3 separate regions of the Homo sapiens genome follow, and regions 1 and 2 are each linked to region 3. The links are contacts of gene promoters, found by promoter capture Hi-C in blood cells and fetal thymus (Javierre and others, 2016). All regions are on one chromosome and are shown on one strand. The core of a region is centred on a gene start or on the middle of the fragment in contact, and the rest is flanking DNA. Distances in the headings are between cores, read along the strand shown.

Region 1 (4,383 bases), core at 15-2,514, 6.5 Mb before region 3:
AAGAAATGATATTTTATATTGCTTCTTGGCCTTTTGGCTAAGATCAAGTGTAGAAATGATATTTTGTAATTATAATATGGGCAGTAGTGTCCTTGGTGCTGAGTTGTAATGTACTGATTTGAGTTATTGAAATGGAAACAGGAAATACTTTTTAGAATGATATCTAAAATGTTTCAGTATTTTCTCATGTTTGTATGTCATAATAACTTAATAGCTTGAAGATAATTTTGTAAATTTATCTTTGTGTTTTTATATGTTTAACCAGAAGAGTTTCAGTGAATGCTGGAGTGTTATTAGATAGTACTTATATATTGTTCTGTGAATTTGGGAAGGACTAGAAAATAGTGAAAAGCAAAATGTGGAATTGTGATGAGAAATACAGAAAATCAATATGTATATAGTATGCTGTAATTAAGTTTTAAATTGGCGTCTAAGTCTTATGGTCATCAGAACCAAAAGTGTCATTTTGGGATGCTTTTTCAAAACCAAGGGAAGCAAACAGGTGTCAAGAGAGAAAGACCTGAAAAATTAGTTTCTTAAAACACAAGCATTTATTTTCTTATCCGAAGGAAGACTAGAAATAATCTAAGGCTGGAATAGTGGTTCCACAGTTAATCAGGAACTTAGACTCCTGTGTTTCTCATCCCCATCGTGGAGCTTGGCTTCTAGTCCTTTTTTTTTTTTTTTTTTTTTTTTTGAGACAGTTTCGCTTTTGTCACCCAGGCTGGAGTGCAGTGGCATGATCTCAGCTCACTGCAGCCTCTCCTCCTGGGCTCAAGCGATTCTCTTGCCTCAGCCTCCAGAGTAGCTGGGATTACAGTCATGGGTCACCACACCCGGCTAATTTTGTATTTTCAGTAGAGATGGGGTTTCACCATGTTGGCCAGGCTGGTCTCAAACTCCTGTCCTCAGGTGATCCACCTGCCTCGGCCTGCCAAAGTGCTGGGATTACAGGCGTGAGCCACCGCATCCAGCCTTGGCTTCTAGTCTTAAGGTCACCGCATAGTCCAAGATAGCTGCTGAAGCTGTAGCTATTACATATCTGTATTTGTGATGTAGGTTGAAATTTAGAAGAAAAGAAGAAAGATGTTCAGATGTCAAAAAGGGCATTTCTAGTCAAAGGAACTTACTTTAAGTAGCCATGTGGCATTTCTGCTTATAACTCATTGACCAGAATGTTGTCATTTGACCATAATAAGCTAAGGAGGAGAGTAGGTAACACAGTATCTATTTAGAGCAGCAAAGAACCTGGATAAAAATTGGTATTGTGTTTCTAAGGAAGAAAAGGAGAACGGCAGCTAGCTATCTGCCATAATATAATTTTCACAAAAAAGAACATAGCTCTTTCTAGCATTTTATTCTAAAAGAAAGCTCATGTGAAATTTTATAAAGGCGATAATTGATTGAGATGTGGTGATCATTGCCCATGACAACAGTTCCAATAGTGGAAACAAGGGTGAATTTTTCATAACTGTATGTTAGGATATCATTTGATAAGGATGAAGAGTATTTAAAAATTTGTTTTCTGACTATAAAAGTTTGTGTCCAATGTGAAAAATTGGAGTAATAGATATAAAAGCATAAAGGTAAATGACAGCTGTGCAGAGCTATGAGCATATAATGTTGCTTGCCAGTATAAGTAATTCTTTTTGTGCCTAGGATTCAGGCACGTAGTTTGTCTTGATCCAATAACGGTAGAAATTCTATTCATTATAAATTTTTTTTTTTTTTTTTGAGACGGAGTTCTGCTTTTGTTGCCCAGGCTGGAGTGTAATGGTGTGATCTTGGCTCACTTCAGCCTCCACCTCCCTGGTTCAAGCGATTCTCCTGCCTCAGCCTCCAGAGTAGCTGGCAAGCCCAGCTAATTTTTTGTATTTTTAGTAGAGACGGGGTTTCATCATGTTGGCCAGGCTGGTCGTGAACTCCTGACCTCAGGTGATCCATGTACCTTGGCCTCCTAAAGTGCTGGGATTACAGGTGTGGGCCACTGCGCCCGGCCGTATAAAAATTCTTTTATATACACTCTATGATCTTTGCTAATACCACTTTTCTTAGCTGACCATCTCATTAGGAGTAAAATTGCATGCAGCTGAAAATGATACCTATGTCAAGTGTTCCTTTGTTTTATTGATTGAGAATCAATTGTATGTATTGCTTTATTGTCAAAGGGAAACATACAGATATCAGGTGGGACTTTCATTTGGCTGCAAGCTGAAAATCTCGTTATATGGTTCCTTAAACACACATAAAGCAGTGAAATTGACAACCTGTGAAAGGTTGAGTCTGCTTTAGAAATCCCCGCTGGATAAAATAATGTTCTACTGTAATCTTGAGTGTGGGCTGTCTGGCGTACTTAGAGAAAAATGCAGTGTTCTTAAAAATCAGTTTTTATCCTTACAGCATTTACTCTTACACTCTGTTGAGTGTCTAGTTATACCTTGGAACATGGCCAAGATTTCAGTATAAATCTTTTTCCTTTGAGATGTTAAAGTAAACAAAAACATAAAAGCCACGTGTTTTTAATAATGTTCCAGTTGGAGAAAAGGGACAGTCAGTCTTTTCCAGAGAAGAAAAATGATTTTTAGTACCTTCTTCTTGGTGGCAGGTCCTTTGCTTTGAAATTGGTCACAATAACATAATCTTTTTGTTGTATCATGTGAGTGAAATATAGGTGATTAGAAAAACCAGTAACATTGCTATTCTTGTTTTCTATAAATTATCAAACATAGCTTGAATAAATGTGGAGAAGGCAGACTCTGCTTATTTTTTCTTTAGAGAAAGGAATTGCAATCTTGGAAAATCATGAAGACGTTTTGAAAAGCTATTATGGGAGATTCTGTTTGAATTGGTCCTGATAGTACCAATCAGAAAACGAATGAATATTTTTGCCTCTGATATGAAAAATAGGTTTAACTGCCTCTGAGATTTTATTTATATTCATATAAATTTTTAACATGTTTTAACTTCAGAGATTTTGTGTATTTTTAAAGTACATAAACTTATGATTTATAGAATCACACTGGTTTTTATTCTTTATATCCTTTAGTTATCCATCAGTTCAGTAGTTAATATAACTGGGTATTTAAATTTGTAGGAAGCTGGAAGACTTCCGATTAGAGAAAGGTGAAGAGGAAAGAAATCTTTATATAATAGGAAGAAAAAGAAAGACTCTTCAGCTCTCACATAAGGTAACCTAAATTCTGTTTTCTTAGCAAATTAGAAATTACATTGAAATATAGAGTTTTCTTTTTGATTTATAAAACTATCAGTAACTTTCATCTGAAGTGGAGTATTTCTTGCTTAAGGTTTTCTGTTTGAGATTTAAAATAGTAGACTTAAGGTTATATAGCTGTTAGAAAGGAGTAGTTTGAAAACTTGAGAAAAATTGCCTAGTGCCTAACAATGGTATTGAGTTCTTAATTTTAGTTACTAAATTATTTGATTCTGAATTGTCATTTGGTTCTTCTTTTTTTTTTTTAAGGGCTCTCAGTTTTCTACTAAAATTCTCATTGTTTTAATTACTTGGAAAGCAGCCATAGCTATTTTAAAAACAGGTCTGGTAATTTCATTTTTTTCAATGTCTTGCTTCCCTGTGGACCATTTTCTATTGCCTGTTGATTTTTCTCCTTTTTTATCATCATATTTTTGTTTCTTTTTTGATTGTTAAATGTTAGAAAAGATTTGAAGCACAGGATGGCTTTATTCCCAGAGACGATTTACATTGACTTCTGGCAGCCTTCTGGGGCCACTCTCAAGCCTTATTGCCTTATCCGAACAAGAATGGGCCTTAGTTCCTTGGGATTACTGTTCTATCTGTAGTTTACCTACAGGTCTAGGCTGTAGCCTTTTGGGCTAACAGCCAAAGCCCGAGGGAGTCCCCTACATATAGGAGGCCATGAATTGCAAGTTTATTAGCCTAACTCATGAGTTAGTCTGTGATTTTGCTTACTTGCTAAACCTTCCAGCTTCCTCTTCCAGAATGAAATTCTAGGGTTAAAATATATATATATCTATGTGTGTGTGTATACACACACACACACACACACACACACACACACACACACACACCCCCCTTCTTTTTTTGATCTTGGTTCTGTGATTCTTCATAACCTTTTAAGGCATAAAGTGCCTTTAAACAGATTTGTTAAAAAATATGTTTTACCAGATTTTCTAGTTTTTCTTAGTGAAAGTTTGGCCCACCTACATGTTAACCTATTATCACTCGTGAAACTCATTAATACGAGTTTTTGCCAAAATCAGTACTGACAAATTAAGGAACATTCAGTTCATTTTAAGATCATCCAGTGATAATGTTGAAATTCTAAAACTGACCAGTGCTCATTAGACAGATGGCCACTCATGTGAAAATTGATTTGTGCATAA
Region 2 (4,931 bases), core at 68-2,567, 6.4 Mb before region 3:
ATTAAAATTAAAGGTTATTAATATGAAAATGCTTAAGACATTTTAGCCCAGATCATTTTAAATTTCCTCCAAATGCTCCTTAAATTTAAGCTTTTTATGAAATATTAATTTATACCATGTGCTTGCCTTCCAGAACACTGAAAAGTTATACCTAAAATACTCTAATTTGATTAGTCATTTTCGTTTAATTTTATTTCTAGACTCCCAAGTGTTTAGTATTTGTATTTATTTGCTATGTCTGCTGCAGCAAATGACAAATTTAGTTGCTTAAATAATAAAAATGTATTACCTGATAGTTCTGTAGATTAGAAGTTTTCATGGGTCTCTAGGTCAGAATCATGGTCTTGGTGTGGCCAGAAGCTCCAGGGAGAGTTATGTGCATTTTCCAGCTTCTAGTGGGTGTCCTCACCTTGGCTCCAGGTCACCTTGTTCCATCTTTCAAGCCAACAATGTAGCATTTTTCAGTCTCTCTCTGACTCTGACCTTTCTGCCTCCCTCTTATAATAACTTTTGTGGCTATACTGGGTCCAAGCAATCAATTCAAGATAATCTTTCATCTCAAGGTCTATACCCTTAATGCAAAATACCTTTTCTCATGTAAGGCAACATAGTCATAGGTTATGAGGATTATGATGTGGACATCTTTGGTGGGGCCATTATTCTGCCTATCATATTATCAGATGTGCTTCATATTCTGCGAAAACAAATATTATAAACCTGGGAGGTGAGAGGTCATGGAATAGCCTTTCACTAGATAATGTGCTCTTGTTAGAGTATGCTTTTCATAGCTAACTTTGTAATATTTCTGAAATTGGTTAAGTTATATGAAAATAACTTACGTTTCATGCATAGTTTAAAAATTTCATTTCTGGAAAAATGTGTTGAGAGCAACATATATGACATTATTGTATTTTTATAGAAGACAGTAGATCAGTTACATTTTTACCACAGTCTTACACCAATAGTGTGATTTTTCTTAAGACTGTGAATGTATTTTTAGGTCCATGATGGGAAAAAAAGCATCAGAGCTACGAACTATGTTGAAAGCAACTGGAAGAAACAGTGTAAGGAACTAGTGAACTTAATTTTTCAGTGTGAAGATTCTGAACCATTTAGACAACCTGTTGATTTGGTTGAATATCCAGTAAGTTTCCATTGTTTAAATGTTTGGGGCTTTTCTTGTTTTGCAGTGAGGAAACTGGGGTAGAGTTATTAAACTTTAAAGAGAAAGATACCCAGGCTTTATGTTAACTTTTTTGCTCCTATCACTAAGTTAGTGGTAGAAGTATTGTTTTTACATAGTTTTCTTCAATTTATAGACACCCTTGTGAGCTCATTTAAGAATTTAGACTTAGATAATCAGTATTACATAACAGTGGGATGGATCTACTTAGATTTCTATCTAAGTAGGCCCAGCACTAGGAGAACTGTGAATTGGATAAACGTGTCTGTTTGCACTCTTTAAAAAGGGAAATTGAAAGATGACTTTATAAAAAAAGTTGGATTATAACAGCACAGAGTGACTGTAGGATGCTTGGAGTACATACAGCAGGAAATAAAACCATCCCATGTGTCACTAACAATAAATAGACATTAACATTTTGGTATATTTCTATCTTTTCTTTGTTTTTATACCTCTTTTTAAACATTACTAATGAATTTTAAGAGTCCTCTAACCTTTTCCTCTCTTCCATCATTTCACATTTTTTAGAGATCTGATGCATTTACATTTCTAAAAGCAAGAAATGAATCTATGAATTAAATATTGTGTTTAAAACCTAGGACTACAGAGATATTATAGATACCCCAATGGATTTTGGAACAGTAAGGGAAACTCTAGATGCGGGAAATTATGACAGCCCTTTGGAGTTTTGCAAAGACATCCGGCTGATATTTAGCAATGCAAAAGCGTATACACCAAACAAAAGATCAAAGGTAATTTTTTATGTGGTTTATTGAAAAAAACTGCCTGATCTGTGTAGATAATTTTCCAATGTAATAGTAATTTTTTCCAGTGTAATTTTCCACTGTGTAATAGAGGTTAGAACATTAAAGATAAGTGAATAAATTAAGACTATTATAAAGAAAAGAGCTTCTGCTACTGCTCATATAGCTTCAGTTTTTGCCTTTCATCAGTTGATGTTTATCATAATCTCCTCAAATTTTATAAGCAAGTGGGGATTAATGGGAGTAGGCATCAATAGAAAGTGAACAAATTTGATACACAGAGTAAGAGTCTCTGTGTTTTGTATGTATAAGGATCTTAAGTGGATTGGAAACATAGATCGAGACTGTAAGAATATTAAAAGTAAAAAGGAAAATCTGATTGTGAGACTGCTGACAGCATAAGAACATTTGGATTTGAAGAAGGAACACATGAGCTATCAGATTAAGACCACAAATAATGTTACAGAGCCAGTGGAGGCTCTTTGCTTGATGTGTTAGAAGCTAATATTATGACACAGGGTTTTTCTTTTTCTTTTTTTTTTTTTTCTAGCCTACTCAAGTGAAGTGGTGACACTGGGTTTTTGAGAATAAGCTTTATATTGAAAGTTGACTCCTAAGGAGACAGGAGTGAATTTCAAATCTGACTCCGGTGCTGGCTTTAAAGCAGTATTTTTATTTTTTATTTTTTTTTAAAGAAAAGGTTCAGGGCATGGATTCTGAGATTAGCAGGTGATTAATGGAAGGAAAGGAGAGGTCTGGAAAGTCTTTGGGCATGTATAGTTATTTCTTTATGTTATCTGATGGGTTGCGTGTGCAAATTTGGGGGAAGTTAGTGTGAAGCATGCTGGAAATTCAGGCTCTGATGTCAGCAGGCTCATTCTTTGCAGACTCCACTTGGCCATACTGGTTTTAACCAGTTTCAGCCAGTTCTTCTTATCTCATAAGCAGAGGGAGTTTTAGTGTTTTATAGTAGGTTGGGTTTCTTTCTTTCTTTTTTTTTTTTTGTCATTTTGTAAACTTAAGAATTTTTGTTAATTGACTTCTTTAACTCTTTGGGGCATGCAGTTTCAGTAGAAGGTTACTAAAGTTTTGTTAACATGTTACACATTGGGTAACTTTTCAAAACTTGATGAGGCCTGTAATCCCTGGAATTTGGGAGGCCAAGGTAGGCAGATCACTTGAGGTCAGGAGTTCGAGACCAGCCTGGTCAACATGGTGAGCCCCCTTCTCTACTAGAGATAAAAAAATTAGCCCGTGTTGGCGCTTGCCTGTAATCCCACCTATAGGCACGAGGCATGAGAACCGCTTGAAATGAGGCATGAGAGCCACTTGAACCTGGGAGGCAGAGGTTGCAGTGAGCTGAGATCATGCCACTGCACTCTAGCCTGGGCAACAGAGCAAGACTCCAGGTAGCTCATGTGTTGAATAATTGTAAAAAGTCATATTTAAAGTAAAATACTTGTTTGATCTTACAACATTTTTTGGTGTCTACAATCAGTGACATTTAACTGTTTTGCTTTAACTGCATTTCCCTGTCATTACTTAATATTAGACTCCTCCTGCATTACTGCCTCTGGTCTCAATTTGAGAACTCTTTCTTGGATTCAGGATCCACACTGCTTGCTGGATCAGTTTAACGTTCAAGGCTAACGTTTCCAAGCTTGGATTTTTGTCAAAGTCACCATTTGTAAGACTGTTTTTTTTCAGCGACAAAATAAATTTCATTCAAGTCTTCCCTGCGCCCCTCAAATACATGTTTGAGGACACATACCATACAGTTCACCATTGAAAGCTTATAGTTCAGTGGTTTTTGGTATAGTACATTGTCAGTTGTTCAAAACTATGGTTAACTATATATAACATAACATTTGCCATTTTAGCCATTTTTATGAGTACAATTCAGTGGCATCGTTTATAATCTTTCTAAAACCTTTTCATCATTCCACACAGAAGCTCTGTAACCATCAAGCAGTAATTTCCCCTCACCCCCAGTCCTTGGAAACCTCTAACTTTCGGTGTCTGAATTTGCCTGTCCTAGATAATTTCATATAAAAATTGAGATCTTACCATATTTGTCCTTTGTGTCCAGCTTATTTATTTCACTTAGTGTAATGCCTTAAAGGCTTATGCATGTTGTAGCATGTATCAGAACTTTATTCCATTTTATGGCTGAATAATATTAAAGTGTGTGGTTATACCATATCTTATTCATTCATCTATCGATGGCCAGCTCGGCTGTTTCTATTTCTTGACCATTACGAGTAATGCTGCAGCAAATTTTGGAATACACGTATCTCTCAGAAACCCTGCTCAATTCCCTTGGGTATAGACCTAAGAGTAGAATTGCTGGGTCATGGGATAATTCATGTTTACCTTTTCCAGGAACCACTACACTGTTTTCCATATTGGCTGCACCTTTTTACATTCCCGCTGGCAGTGTATAAAAGCCACAGTTTGTTCACATCCTTGCCAACACTTGTTGTTTTTGGAGTTTTGTTTGTGTGTGTGTGTGTGTGTGTGTGTGTGTGTGTTTTCTTTTTTTTCTTTTTTTTTTTTGAGCCTGTCTCACTCTGTTGCCCAGGCTGGAGAGCAGTGGTGAGATCTTGGCTCACTGCAACCTCCAACTCCTGAGCAATTTGCCTGCTTCAGCCTCCCGGGTAGCTGGGACTACAGGCTTGCGCCACCATGCCCGGCTAATTATTGTATTTTTAGTAGAGATGGGGTTTCACCATATTGGCCAAGCTAGTCTTGAACCCTTGACCTCAAGTGATCTGCCTGCCTCGGCCTCCCAAAGTACTGGGATTATAGGCATGAGCCACTGTGCCTGGCAGAATAAAATTTATATATATGAAATACTGAAAATAACTGTCAAAGATCATTTCAGATTAAGTATAACAAATTTCACATTCATTTGTGAGCATATATATATGTATATGAGAAGCATGTAAGAAATTCGTATATCTCACATACTTTTTAAAAAAGTT
Region 3 (4,334 bases), core at 760-3,259:
CAAATAATAAATAAATAAATAAATAAAATAAAAAGAAATGCTTGGAGTGCTCGGGATCTTCCACTTCAACCTGGAATTTAAATCTTACTGAAATTTCTACAGGATGGTGTGGGCAAACAGGCATCCTAATGTTTGCTGATATAAGTGCAAACTGCATAACTTCTATAAAAAGAAATTTAGAATTAGCAAAATCATAAATGCATATATTGAGATCTAGCAATTTCAATTCTATTTCATCCTACAGATGTAACAGTTTTTCAAAGCTTTTCATTACAGCACTGATTAAGACTAGAAATAATCTAAATATCAATGTTTATGGAACTGGTTAAATAAATTACGGTATATCCCAACAATGAATCACTACGCAGGTGGGTTAAAAAAAAAAATAGACGGCCGTGCGCGGTGGCTCACGCCTGTAATCCCAGCACTTTGGGAGACTGAGGCGGGCGGATCACGAAGTCAAGAGATTGAGATCATCCTGGCCAACAGAGTGAAATACAAAAATACAAAATAAATTAGCTGGGCGTGGTGGCACGTGCCTGTAATCCCAGCTACTAGGGAGGCTGAGGCAGAAGAATCACTTGAACCTGGGAGGCGGAGATTGCAGTGAGCGGAGATCGCGCCATTGCACTCTAGCCTGGGCGACAAGAGCGAAATTTAGTCTCAAAACAAACAAACAAAAAACCAAAAAAACACAACCCTTCATATACAGATATGGGCCGATCTCCAATCTACGGTAGGCTAAAAATGCAGCTTACACACCATCTGTGTAAAAAGGGGAACACATTAAAATATGCATATTTATTTGCTTTTATGTTCATGGAACATCTTTAGAGGATCATAAGAAACTGTTAACATTGCCACTGAGGAAGTGAACAGCCTTCCAGACATGGGTGGATTTTTTTCACTCTACCGAATACCCTTTTAATTTCGAAACATCAAAATGAATTCGCATGCACAGGTGCATGCCCGAAGGAAAAACTTCTAGTTCGGTGATGAGATAGGGAAAGCCGGTGAGTTCAACCTTAGGCGCAATCACCCTGTGAAGGTGTGGCCAGCGAGGGCTTTGTCACGCAAGTCTGAGAACTGTCACAACCTTCCCCACCCCCTGCTCTATTTTCCTTCCACTTGTTTCTGAAACTCACTAAGCTTTGGAAAGTATTTAGTCATAGAATTGCTTGCAAACTTGGCATTCTTTAGAAAACACGGAAACACTTTTGCTTTCCTTGTTCCTGAAAGACTGGGGAACGGGGGACATCAAGCCAGGTAACATTGTATCATAACTGAAATTCAATGTCTTTGAAGTAACATTGTACCATAAATGAAATTCAATGTCTTTGAAGTAACATTGTATCATAAATAAAATTCAATGTCTTTCTAAGAGCTCTGTAGCTATAAAGCTGTAGAAATACAAAGTATTACTCAAGAATAACTAGTAATTACCAATAGTCACACCTCAGGTCAAAGTTTGGAGAGGACTATTCCACCTACTAGATCACACTTTCCTTCCCGAAAGCCGCTTCTCTCTCTGGCCTCTCCCCTCCTCCTCCTCCCTCATCTGTTTGGCGGGAGGCTTCCTCACATTACCGCTCCGCGTAAGTGCGAAGACGCACTGCAGCAGCGCCGTCTGAGGGACAACAGAGCCTACTCTTTCTTCTCATCTCTATGATCCTCTTTGTGACCTGTCAAACAACACCAGAGTTCCATGCTAATAGTACTCCACTCCGACAGAGAGCGATGCAAAGAGCCGACGCTCTCGCGAGAGGTGTGGGGCTCTCTCTCTCTCTCTCGCTCTCTCTCTCTCTCTCTCTCTCGCTCTCTCTCTCTCTCTCTCTCTCTCTCTCTCTCTCTCTCTCTCTCTCTCTCTCTCTCTCTCTCTCTCTCTCTCTCTCTCTCTCTCTCTCACTCTCTCTCTTTCTCCAAGTATTGAGAGCGCGTGGGAGCATAGGCGCATGCGCGCTCGTGGGGTGCGCGGTAGCAACAGAGGACTCGACCCGGCTGGAGCTCCGGAGAGCGCGCGTGCGCCGTCACGAGCTCGGCGCTGCCGGGGCCGCGGTGTGGAAGCGAGTATTCGACCGCCGTGCGGGCCGCGGGGATGTTCCGAAAGGCCCGGCGGGTGAACGTGCGCAAGCGGAACGACTCCGAAGAGGAAGAGCGGGAACGCGATGAGGAGCAGGAGCCGCCGCCGTTGTTGCCGCCGCCGGGCACGGGCGAAGAGGCGGGCCCCGGTGGCGGCGACAGGGCCCCTGGCGGGGAGTCGCTGCTGGGCCCGGGGCCGTCGCCGCCTTCCGCGCTGACCCCGGGCCTCGGGGCTGAGGCCGGGGGCGGCTTCCCCGGCGGCGCGGAGCCCGGCAACGGGCTGAAGCCGCGCAAGAGGCCTCGCGAGAACAAAGAGGTGCCCCGGGCCAGCCTGCTCAGCTTCCAGGACGAGGAGGAAGGTAAAGTGCGCGCTTCGGACGCCCTTAGACGGCCGCATCCCCGACGCAGGCCCCCGTCCCCCGCCCCCGTATTCTCTGGACGCCCAGCCCCGGAGCCCTGGAACGGAGTCCCCTGCCGTCCGACCGGCTGCGAATCTTCCCCAGCCTCCGGCCTTCTGCTCGGGCAAGGGACGCGTTCCCGCGCTGCCCCCAGCCTTTTCTTAACCACCTCCTCTGCCACGGGGCCGGAGCTCAGATCAGGCATTCAGAGTGTTTCAGGGGAAATTCGGTGTTCCCTGTCCTGCCTCTTTTCTGCCTGGCGTGTTTCAGGGCCAACTTGGTGTGGGTCCCCTGGCTGCTCTTGGCATGCTTTCCGAGCCCTCTGCAGGTCACTGCGCCCACACTTCTTGGATGCTCTGTCCAGGCATCCTCGACCATGAAGGCCGAGTTTGTAAAAAGGAATACTAGGAGAGGGAACAGAAGCCTGGAGTTGCAGCTCTGGTTCTGAGTGACCTTGGGCCAGTCCCTTGCAGTCGCTGAGCCTCAGTTTACCCATAAAAGTAATTAGGGGTAGCAGATACCCAGCCTTCTTCGCACTGACTTTGGGAACAGTGAAGCGAGACGGTGTAAAAATAGTAAAAGCAAGGTAGTTTCTCCAATTCCTGTGGGAGGCCAGGCTGCAGTGGTTTTAGATTGCTGATCTTAAATGAGCCTTAAATCTTTTCTTCTGACCATTTGAATGTGCATAACCCAGTTAATTCCATGTTACGAAAAAAGAAATTAAGTTTTGTAAATCTTGCATTTTTATTCGAGAGGTTTCCAGTAAGGTAGGTAGTTTATCTTTGGCATTTCTGTTACTCTTTATTTGGTTTGAGAGGAGTACAGACAGATTTTTGTTTTTGAGATACATGAGCTATTTTTTTTTAAGTATTTAGTACTTTTAAAATTTCAAATCAAAGAAAAGTGATTTGCCCTTACCTTAGCTTTAAAACCACTATGTCAGCTTGTGGTGGATGTAGTTACTCAGAATTGACAGCACCTTTTTATTTTAGATATTTTGTTTCGGATTCGTTAATAACTTGGTGATGTGGTTTTTCAGAAACATTTTGAATGATTTTTTCCCCTCTCAAATAGATGATTTAAGGACGACAATAATAGGAAAATTTTGTGAAGTTACATGTGCTATTCCTTTAAAAAGTCTCAAAAATCTCATTACTTCACAGTAATTTAGGAAGTTGACCTCTGTTTTTGAGTCTGTGACAGACTTGAAATAATTATACAATGATTTTGGCATATGAGTATATATATTTGGGATAATTTGGACAGCACGTAAGATCATGTGAAAGAAGGGAAAATATTTTCAGAAAATAGTTGCTACAGACTTCATTTAATTTCCTTTTTAAGAAAATGAAGAAGTTTTCAAAGTGAAGAAATCAAGTTATAGCAAAAAGATAGTAAAATTGCTCAAGAAGGAATATAAAGAAGATCTTGAAAAATCGAAGATTAAGACAGAACTCAACTCATCAGCTGAAAGTAAGTACCAAACTAATTGAATTCTTTTGAAATGACAAAATGAAAGCTCTTTCTCACAGTGATTTGCTGTATATCTTCTGAACTCATTCAGTGGACCCTGTGGTTGTCAAGGGCCCTTATTGAGTAGCAGTACAGTTCTGTTATTTAATTGTAACACAGATGCTTTGTAAATGTATTTTATAAGAAGACAGAATTGTTGCCACTGGAACATTTCTGCTGCAATGACTAGATTCTCTCACAGTTTTCCTACTTGTGTGCAGACTGCTGTTGAACAGAGAAAGAAGGTTTCTCATTTTAGCCTAAGACACAGGTTTATTTCTGTTTGAAGGAGTGTTGTGCAAATTCTTGTATTTTGTAGAGACAGATTTGCGATTTCTTTGGTGG

Evidence for each region. Contacts are between HindIII fragments. The CHiCAGO score rates a contact against its expected background, and 5 or more counts as called.
Region 1: a contact is called between a fragment that was not itself captured here and the fragment with the promoter of PAXBP1 in region 3, in 1 of 17 cell types (M2 macrophages). The highest score is 5.0, in M2 macrophages.
Region 2: a fragment that was not itself captured here is called in contact with the fragment with the promoter of PAXBP1 in region 3 in 1 of 17 cell types (M2 macrophages); the score reaches 5.0 in M2 macrophages.

The regions. Positions count from the first base shown.
Region 1 is chr21:39,249,601-39,253,983 of GRCh38, reverse strand. BRWD1 (bromodomain and WD repeat domain containing 1) reads left to right here. Exons shown (of 41, transcript NM_033656.4): 20 at 3,095-3,188. Among named protein-coding and RNA genes, the nearest start is that of BRWD1, 62 kb to the left of the region's middle. The HindIII fragment of the contact is 9,465 bases long and covers 1-4,383 here.
Region 2 is chr21:39,206,999-39,211,929 of GRCh38, reverse strand. It overlaps BRWD1 (bromodomain and WD repeat domain containing 1), which reads left to right. Exons shown (of 41, transcript NM_033656.4): 35 at 1,001-1,144; 36 at 1,783-1,935. Among named protein-coding and RNA genes, the nearest start is that of PSMG1, 26 kb to the right of the region's middle. The HindIII fragment of the contact is 2,449 bases long and covers 93-2,541 here.
Region 3 is chr21:32,769,430-32,773,763 of GRCh38, reverse strand. PAXBP1 (PAX3 and PAX7 binding protein 1) reads left to right here and starts at 2,009. Exons shown (of 18, transcript NM_016631.4): 1 at 2,009-2,438; 2 at 3,822-3,950. The coding sequence starts at 2,096. It overlaps EPCIP-AS1 (EPCIP antisense RNA 1), which reads right to left and starts at 1,664. Exons shown (of 4, transcript NR_024623.1): 1 at 1,456-1,664. RefSeq lists an enhancer at 1,353-2,342. The HindIII fragment of the contact is 7,946 bases long and covers 1,152-4,334 here.